3 separate regions of the Homo sapiens genome follow, and all the other regions are linked to region 2. The links are contacts of gene promoters, found by promoter capture Hi-C in blood cells and fetal thymus (Javierre and others, 2016). All regions are on one chromosome and are shown on one strand. The core of a region is centred on a gene start or on the middle of the fragment in contact, and the rest is flanking DNA. Distances in the headings are between cores, read along the strand shown. Region 1 has its middle 23 kb from the start of MIR646HG. Region 2 holds the start of SYCP2 (synaptonemal complex protein 2). Region 3 holds the start of MIR646HG (MIR646 host gene).

Region 1 (2,986 bases), core at 482-2,981, 180 kb after region 2:
GCTGAGAGAAATTAATGCAAGCTGAGACCATATGTGCACTGATAGGCTCCTCACCACTCTACTGGGTCGAACAGTGTCCCCCCTATAATCCATGTCCACTCAGAACCTCAGAATGTGACCTTATTTGGAAATAGAGTCTTTGCAGATATAACTGGTTAAGATGAGGTTGTACTAGATTAGGGTGGATCTTAATTGGCCAATGTCCTTATAAGAAGAGGAAAATTTGGATGCAGAGATGGACTGAGAAGAAGGCCATGTGAAGAAGGCCATGAGAAGAAGGACTGGAGAGGAATAGCTGCCAGTCATTGATATAAAAATGGAGTCGCTACATCAACCATAGTAAAATGGGGTGCAGCACCCCCACCACATGCCTGACTTATCACAAGACATCCCTGCTTGTATGCCTATGACAGGAACTATGCAAGGAACTCCTCAAAAACACAGGATTCCAGGTAAGCCACTTATGGATGCACATAACTTGTCCAACACTGGCTGCTTCCACCAATGAGCTAACACCAACTCCCGGAATAAGCCCCTGTGATCAATGGTCTTCATTTCAAAACAACTTAAGGTGGACTTCTCCCTTTTGTCTTTAAAAGCTTCTCCTAGTCCCAACCTCTTTGGATGTGCTTATGGCTCACCAGAGAATGCATATCCTGGATTGCAATCCTCTGCTATTCCCGAATCAACTCTTTGGAAAGTCTCTCTCTGTGTTGTTATTTTACAAGGCCAAGTAATACCAGGGATTTCCAGCAACCACCAGAAGCTGGAAGAGGCAAGGAAGGACCCTCCCTAGAGTCTCCAGACAGAAGATGCCTCATAGACACCTCGATTTCAGATTTCTGGCCTTCGGAAGTGAGAGAGAATAAATTCCAGTTGATTTAAGCCACCTGGTTTGTGTGCTTTGTTGGCAGCCCATGAAAGTCATATCATGACTTTTGCAAACTGACCAATTAATAATTAAGAAAAATGGCCTGAGATGGTAAACTGATGAGCATTTTGAAATTCACAAAAATTTGTTCTCACGTTTGTTATCCTGGGTGAATCTTCTGAAGCTGTATGTTAAACACACAAGATTCCTATGTAAACCATGATGTCTTCACAATATTGAGCATATTTTATCTTTTAAAAAAGTAAATTACCCATTCTTGCACAAAAAAGTAGATTTTTGTTGATCTATATTTTTATTTAGAATAAATTTGATGAAATCAGGTGGTGGGACAGCTGGCCCAGCTTGGAATAATGATCCCTCTGGATATATCCTTGTCTTGTTCTCATTTACAACTTTTGAGGCATAAAAGCATATTTTCAAAAAACCAACGCTTCTATATGAAAGCAGATTTATCATTCAGATCCATCATTAATTTCCCAATGACGTTCTGCCTGCCCATAAAAAAGACTTAGAGCTCGTTATGAAAATTTTATTCCAGAGAAAATGGTCTTGGGACATGGTTTGCACTGACCTCTTTTAACCTCTTGTTCCCTGTGTTATTATTATTAAGTAATAATGTTGCTTCCTGCCATTGCCTGCCAACATAACTCTTCCCTCTTTGTACTTCAGGAATCTGGGGACGGTTTTGGTTGCAGAGGGCAGATCAGCACTTTGCCATCGCCCTGTGCTCCTGGCCAGTCCCCATGCCGCTGCTGGGATGACAGTCTTACATCATCTTTTATGAGTACATCAACTTATTTGCAATTACGTTTAGATTGTCTAATAAAACCGGGTGACATTTTAGCTTACAGTTTATGTCCCAGTAAAAGGCTCCAAATGTTATTGCCATAAGAATCTATGTGGCAACCCAACATAAACCTTTTATTTCTAGCTGGACAGCTGACTCTGCGTTTAGCAACAGGAAAGCAGGGAATTGGAGGAGCGGGTTTCGGGGGGCGGTCGTGACAGCAGCCACCTCCTGCGGGTTTTGTTTTCTCTGTCAGGTTCCCCTTCTAGCACTCAAAAGCATCCAGCACTTTCTGAAAAGGAGGCCTGGGAAATGGTTGGACATGTCTCTGTTGTGGGCTCTGGGTGTGAGCCACAGAAGTGAGAGCTGAAGAAACCTCAGAGACCATCAGGCTTCCTCGTGGGATAGTTTTGGGTCCTTAGGAAATTAGGCCTTGGCACTCAGCTTAGATGACTTCCATTACAGTCCTATAGGTGTGAAATAAACATCTGGCTCAGAGGTTCTCCACTGAGGGCCACCATGGGTCAGTGTCTGGAGACATTTTTGGTTGTCACACCTGGGGGCAGTGCTGAGACTACTGTGTGCGCATTCATCTAGCGGGTGCAGGTGGGATGCTGCTGACACGTAACATGCACAGGGCAGCTCCGCCACAGAGAAAGATCCAACCCCGAATCTCGGCATGACGGAGGCTGAGAAATCCTGATCTAAGTGATAGCTTACTAAGCAAGGCCTTGGCGTTCAGAAGCGGTTGCCTGATTTCCTTCTTTCCTTTTTGAGTCATGGTTTTGTTGAGTTCTTGAAAGTGATAGACCTGCTGTAAATAAAATCACTGGATAAAGTTGGCGAGGGGTGGCCTGCCAGCCTCCAACCCCTGCCTGATGTGGGGTGCGTGGCCGGCCAGCCTCCAACCCCTGCCTGATGTGGGGTGCGTGGCCAGCCAGCCTCCAACCCCTGCCTGATGTGGGGGGCGTGGCCGGGCAGTCTCCAACCCCTGACTAATGGGGGGGGCGTGGCCGGCCAGCCTCCAACCCCTGCCTGACGGGGGTAAAATAGTGAAAAGCAAAAGCACCTGGTGTTTTTAGGAGACAGGAGACACAACAACTGAATATGTGGGCAGATTTGGGGGAAGAAAGAAATGAGCCCCAATGACCTGCTTCAGTTTTCTATTGAAAGAAATGCAACTTGGAAGCTTCATTTTTTTTTTTTAAGCACATCCTTTAAAAACATTGCCCAGTGCGTTTGGAAGTAGCCTTCCAGAAACCCTTGGGATTTATGACCCCAAAGTATGCTCACAGGTGCTCCCAATG
Region 2 (2,826 bases), core at 266-2,765:
ACACAGAGAACTAGTAAGATGATGATTGTGTATCTGCAGGCAGATAAAAGCGTTACGGATAAAAACAACAACAAAGAAAACAATTTGGCAGATGGGGGAGGCAAAGATTTTCCCCCAAAGGAAAAACTGCTGAATGAATGCAAGCAGCAGTAGATAATTCAAAGTCCCCTCTGCCCTGGTAACTAACATAGCTAAGGTGTCCAAAAAGACATTAAAGGTGAATGAAGGGGAGGGAAGGCGTCCTCCTCCTCCCATCATTACTAAAAAATGTAGGCCGGGCGAGGTGGCTCACACCTGTAATCCCAGCACTTTGGGAAGCCGAGGCAGGTGGATCACCTGAGGTCAGGAGTTCGAGACCAGCCGGGCCAACATGGAGAAAACCCGTCTCTACTAAAAATACAAAATTAGCTGGGCGTGGTGGCGCGCCAAGTAGTCCCAGTTACTCCGGAGGCTGAAGCAGGAGAATCGCTGGAACCCGGAAGATGGAGGTTGCAGTGACGCGAGATCGCACCACTAAACTCCAGCCTGGGTGACAGAGCGAGACTCCGTCTCGGGAAAAAAAACAACAAAAAAAAACCACGCTGCCGTATTCGCAGATGCTCGGCCAGCCTGGAGCCCGGTCCAGAAAAGGCCGCACGTGGAGCCACGTGTCGCGCATTGAGCCGCCGCGGGACGCATCAGGCCCAGCTGCGCGGAGGGGCTGGCGGCCTCAACCGCAAGGAGAGGCCGCAGGTGGGGACGGCGGGAGGGAGAGAAGGGACTGAAGGCGCCGAGCAGGAGGAAGGTTTTGCGCGCACTCCCTTCTTCCCTAAGTGGAACCGGCAGTGGCAACAACGAGGCCGAAGGCGAAGTCCCTGCTCCCACCGCCGGCACGGTGACCCTTTTCCCAGGGTCACCCCCGAACCAACAAAGCACACACACACCCGAGATGCGCCCCAGGCCGCAGCGCCAACCCCCCTTCAGATGTCCCGGAGACAGGCGAGCAGCGGTCCCCAGGGCTCCCGTCGCCACCGCTTCTCCCGCACCCCTCAGCCTCCTCGGGCCGGCGACGCGCGCAGCCCCAGGCCTGCTCCCCGCTCGCCAAGCGCACCGCCCCGCGCCTCAGCCACCTTGACCGAGTCGCCCACGCGCGGGGGCGGCTCCGAGCGCCCATTTCCCATCCCCGAGGCCGAGGCTGGCCAGGCAGGTGCTGATGGGGAGCCTCGCGCCTGCGCGAGCCACCCTCGCCGCGAACTCTGCACAGCCCACGCCCTGGCCCAGCCTCGGCGCCTCCCCTCCGCCCACTGCCGCAGAACCGCACCCCCTCCCCCTCGGCAGCTTCCACAACGGCTCCGCCTCAACCGTCGGAAGCTTCTCGCCTGCCGGCTTGAAAGGCCAAGCCGAAGCCCCACCCTCCCTCCGCGCCCCGCCGTGGGGGAAGCCCACCCAGGCACTCTGCTCAACCTGCCTGCGGCAGGAGGCGTCCGCGTAGTGTCGGTGGAGCCGCCCCCTATGCCGCCGAGCGTCGCAACTCTGCGCCTCAGGGACCGCCGCAGCGCCTCCGGCGAACGGCGGAAGGCGGGAAGCGCCCGTCCAATCCGCGCCAGGTGCGGTCGATAGTGCGTCCAATCGGCGTCGCCGCCAGCCAGGTCCCGCCCCCCCCATCCCCCCCACCCCCGCCAACGCTCGCCGGGGTCGCCCGAGGCCTGAGCCAAGGGGGACGCTGTGGGCGCGGCTCAGGCCAGGCCCTCAGGTTAGTGGGTCCCCGCTGTCCCCGCGCTTCGGCCCGTCCTCTCGCGCTATGCTCTCCTGATGAACGCCCCGCGAGCGGAGTCACCCCCGCCAGCGAGGAGACTCGCTGCCTTGACTGGGGCCCTGGTCCCGGGACAGGCGAGCAGGAAGGGATGGAAGGGACGGAAGCGCGGGCGGGACCAGGAGAAGCCCATCCCCGCGCTATGCGTCCCCAGAGCCACTGGGACCCGCGGCTCCAGCCAGCCCTGCAGGGGCGAGCTGGACCGGGGGACCAGGGCGCCGGGCCGACGACTCCTGGGTGAGGCCTGGCTCCTGCCGGCAGGGGGCGCAGGGCCGCCTGGGCTCCTGGGTGCGGGTGCCGGAGGGCGGGAGAGACCGCAGGTCCGGAGACGGGGTGCTGAGCTGGGTACCCAACTGTGTATTCCTAGGCTCTTTCAGACGCTTCCATTTAAGAGATCCGTTTAACTTATGCAGCCAGCGGGTGCTTGTGTAAAAAATCGCAGGCCCTTCTGAGACAGGCACAGCCGCGAAAGGGTCTCCTTGCCCCTTGGCTCGCAGAGGGCGTCGGTGTTCGGCGCTCAGTCTTCTGCGTGTTTTCCCCGTGCTCGCGTTCTGAGATGGAAACTGTTCCACGTGCACTGAGATGCAGCTCGGTCTTTCTAACAGCTTCGTAATTATTTAATCATGTGGATTAACTTCATCCGAGGAATTCAATCCTCCACTGATGAGCCTACACTTCTATTACAAATAATACTGCAGCAAACCACCTTTGGATTAATATTTGTGTCGGATCAATTTTTAAAAGTTGAATTGTATGTGTAGTTAAACTTTTATAGGTATCTTCAAATCAAAATTTAAAATTATATTTTAATAACATTTTAATTTCTTATCTAAAAGGCACTAATTGTTTAAAAATATGGGATTAAGATTTAAATGTGCGGTGGAAAGCACCTGAAAAAAATAAACACAAGGTAATAGAATCAAAGCTCAGTTGTGGACCAGAGCAGATCAAATCACAGTAAATAAGCTCTCAGAGGTGTTTTAAATATTCTGCTTAGCTAGAATTACCAACTTCTTGACAACTTTGTAACTACC
Region 3 (2,850 bases), core at 351-2,850, 200 kb after region 2:
CAGAAAGACAAACATCACATGTTCTCACTTATTTGTGGGATCCAAAAATCCAAACAATTGAACTCATGGAGATAGAGGGTAGAAGGATGGATACTAGAGGCTGGGAAGTGTTGCGGGGGTGAGGAGGACGGACATGGGGATGAATAAGACCTAGTGTTTGATAGTACAATAGGGTGAGTAGAGTCAACGATAATTTAATTGTACATTTAAAAATAGCTAAGAATATAATTGGATTGTTTGTAACACAAAGGACAAATGCTTGAGGAGATGGATACTCCATTTTCCATAGTGTGATTATGGTGCATTGCATGCCTGTATCAAAACATCTCATGTTCCCCATAAATATATACACCTACTGTGTACCCATAAAAATGTAAAAAAATGATTAAAAGTCTAGATATAATTTAAAAGAGGAAACTGTCTTTGTGTGGAGGCCAGCTGAAGACAGATACTGCATCAGGCACTTGGCAGCCTGGTTTCCAGTAGCTTCTCAACCCAGTGGAGTAGACTCTATGGCCCCATTTTGCAGATGAAGAATGGAGGTGCAGAGAAATCACAGCTCTAGCTTTGTCAGGAGGACCATAGAGGTCCAGGGGCTGGAGGTCTGAATATTTAATAGAGGGATTTGAATAACCATGGAAGTTAGCCTGGAGAGAGATTTAGGAGGCAGATAAGCCTAGTGTTCACTGTGGGGGCAGATGCCTTCCCCATCTGTGCAGACGATTGGCCCAAGTGGCCATGATGACATGGCTCCTACCTACTTCCTAATGGACCTCAGAGAATTAAACAGCGAGGACAACAGCGAGTGTTGTCTCTCAGACCCTTGGCTTTTTCAGGACTGCCTGACCTTTCTTTGTCCTTATTTGGCTTCAAGTCAAGTCAGCTCAACCCTGATTGAGCACCGGCAATGAGTCATGTCTGTGAAGGCGACACAGCCCCTGTCCTTGAGGAGCTTCGAGTCCAGTGACTGTCACTTCAGTGGAAGTTGGGCTGGACACAGTCACATGTGTATGCCAGACATGAGGCTTTGTTCTCATTACAATAATTGCCCTGCATTATTCTAGCAATTAAGCTTCTCCACGTGTGTGGATGCATGTTCCCAATTTTTTCTGGCCTCTACCGAACACAATGTTAATATTTGAGAGCAGTCCTAAAAAATTAAATAATTATACAAACTGAATTAGGATAGCATAATATTACCAATCAGAGTAATGTGGCTTTGTAATCCAGTGTGATGTCATATGAATCTACAAATTAGGAAGCATGTCAGAGGAGGAAACCACATCCTTTATTGCTTTGCCTTAAATAGCTTAAAACTAATCTTTTCCATGAGCCAACAGCTATCTCTCATGTTTAATAATGCTCCTCCCTGCCCAGATGAAGCTAACTAAATGATGTTGCCCCCTGCACCTGCAAATGCCTGGTGCCAGGGCAGGGACACAGGGAATGGCAGAAGGGGAGACCAGATGTTGGCTGAGGCATTGATTTATGGGCATGACCTTCCATGTGCCCCGAGGATGGCTGAGACCAGGGTTTGATGAATGCAGTGCTCTGTGTGAGAAGTTCTAAGGTGACAAGCAAAGATTCTATCCTCTGGAGGGGCAAGCCCTATTATTAGGTTGGTGCAAAAGTAATCGCAGTTTATGCAGTTGTAATGGCAAAAACAGAAATTACTTTTGCACCAACCTAATACCAGACAGAGGAGGTGCAAGTGCATGCCACCAGGGCAGGTGCAGGTGATGGGGGCAGAGAAAACTCAGATGTCTCCAATCTGTGCAGAGTAGGGAAACAGAAAAAGCTAAGTGAGGAAAGTGAGATTGCTATCACACAGATGCATGTCTTAGGTTTTCTGATTCCATTCCTCATGAATTTCATTAAGTAATCAAAGTGCTAAGCATGAAATGTGGGTATGCTGTCACCAGGTGGCAGCAGCATCCACTCTCCAAAATGCATTTTGTTCAAACCTAGTATGTGCTGGGTATTCTGAGCACATAGCAGAGACTAAGGCAAAGAGTCCCTGGCACTGTGGAGCTTAGAGGCTAATGAGGTGGCAGGTGCTTACACTTTAGAAACCGTTGTGAGGAATAGCTAGTGGTAGTTAAATGATACAGTGATAGTTAACAGAGAGGAAAGCTTTTCTCTCACTCCAAGCTATATTTTTATTATCACTATTAATATAAATAGAAAATAAATATTAAAATAGTTATTAAATAAGCAAAAGATAATGTTGCATTTAGTTATACGATTAAGTAGAGGTTTTCAAATATTTTTTAGCTTTGTGCAACCGAAATTATATGAGGAAGCAAAAACCACAAATACAGAAAATAAGAACTTTTCTGTTTGAACAGAAACGAGGACACTGGGGAGGCCCTTCCAATGCAGGCCAGACTTTTAGGGGCTCGACAGAACACAGCTGGAGAAACATCCACACCACACGCGGTTTCACCTGCCACACGGCAGCCCGGGTGCCCGGATCACTGTGTGTGGAGACTCAGGCTCACCGGCAAACCTCTTCCGGTTCCGGTCAGGGTGCTGCCTCCCTATCCACTGGGAGTCCTTTTGCGTTTCAGATGCTCCCAGGCTCTCCCGCAGTTTAAAGACTTAACTCAGCGGCTTTCAGGGCCTGTGGTTGAGGGACTCCGAAAGAACTGTTGCTGGTGGACCGGTTCAGGGTCTTGACTTCGCCACACAAAAGAACTTGAGAGCACGTCCAAAGTAAAGGTAAGCAAGGGAGTTGATCGCACAGCGAAAGCGCACTCTGCCAGCGGATCGGAGCGGCCGCTCAAAGGCGAGGCAGTGCTGGCCGACACTGGGGAAACCCCCTTTATGGGGGTCTTACATGATTATTCA

The links. Contacts are between HindIII fragments. The CHiCAGO score rates a contact against its expected background, and 5 or more counts as called.
Region 1: a contact is called between a fragment that was not itself captured here and the fragment with the promoter of SYCP2 in region 2, in 1 of 17 cell types (neutrophils). The highest score is 5.1, in neutrophils.
Region 3: a contact is called between a fragment that was not itself captured here and the fragment with the promoter of SYCP2 in region 2, in 3 of 17 cell types (monocytes, megakaryocytes and neutrophils). The highest score is 7.0, in monocytes.

Annotation. Positions count from the first base shown.
Region 1 is chr20:60,114,045-60,117,030 of GRCh38, forward strand. No RefSeq gene overlaps it. Among named protein-coding and RNA genes, the nearest start is that of MIR646HG, 23 kb to the right of the region's middle. The HindIII fragment of the contact is 2,269 bases long and covers 598-2,866 here.
Region 2 is chr20:59,932,122-59,934,947 of GRCh38, forward strand. It overlaps SYCP2 (synaptonemal complex protein 2), which reads right to left and starts at 1,516. Exons shown (of 45, transcript NM_014258.4): 1 at 1,448-1,516; 2 at 1-33. It also overlaps a transcript of FAM217B not described here. RefSeq lists a silencer at 1,807-2,206. The HindIII fragment of the contact is 1,592 bases long and covers 1,349-2,826 here.
Region 3 is chr20:60,135,924-60,138,773 of GRCh38, forward strand. MIR646HG (MIR646 host gene) reads left to right here and starts at 2,569. Exons shown (of 5, transcript NR_046099.1): 1 at 2,569-2,721. The HindIII fragment of the contact is 1,061 bases long and covers 1,071-2,131 here.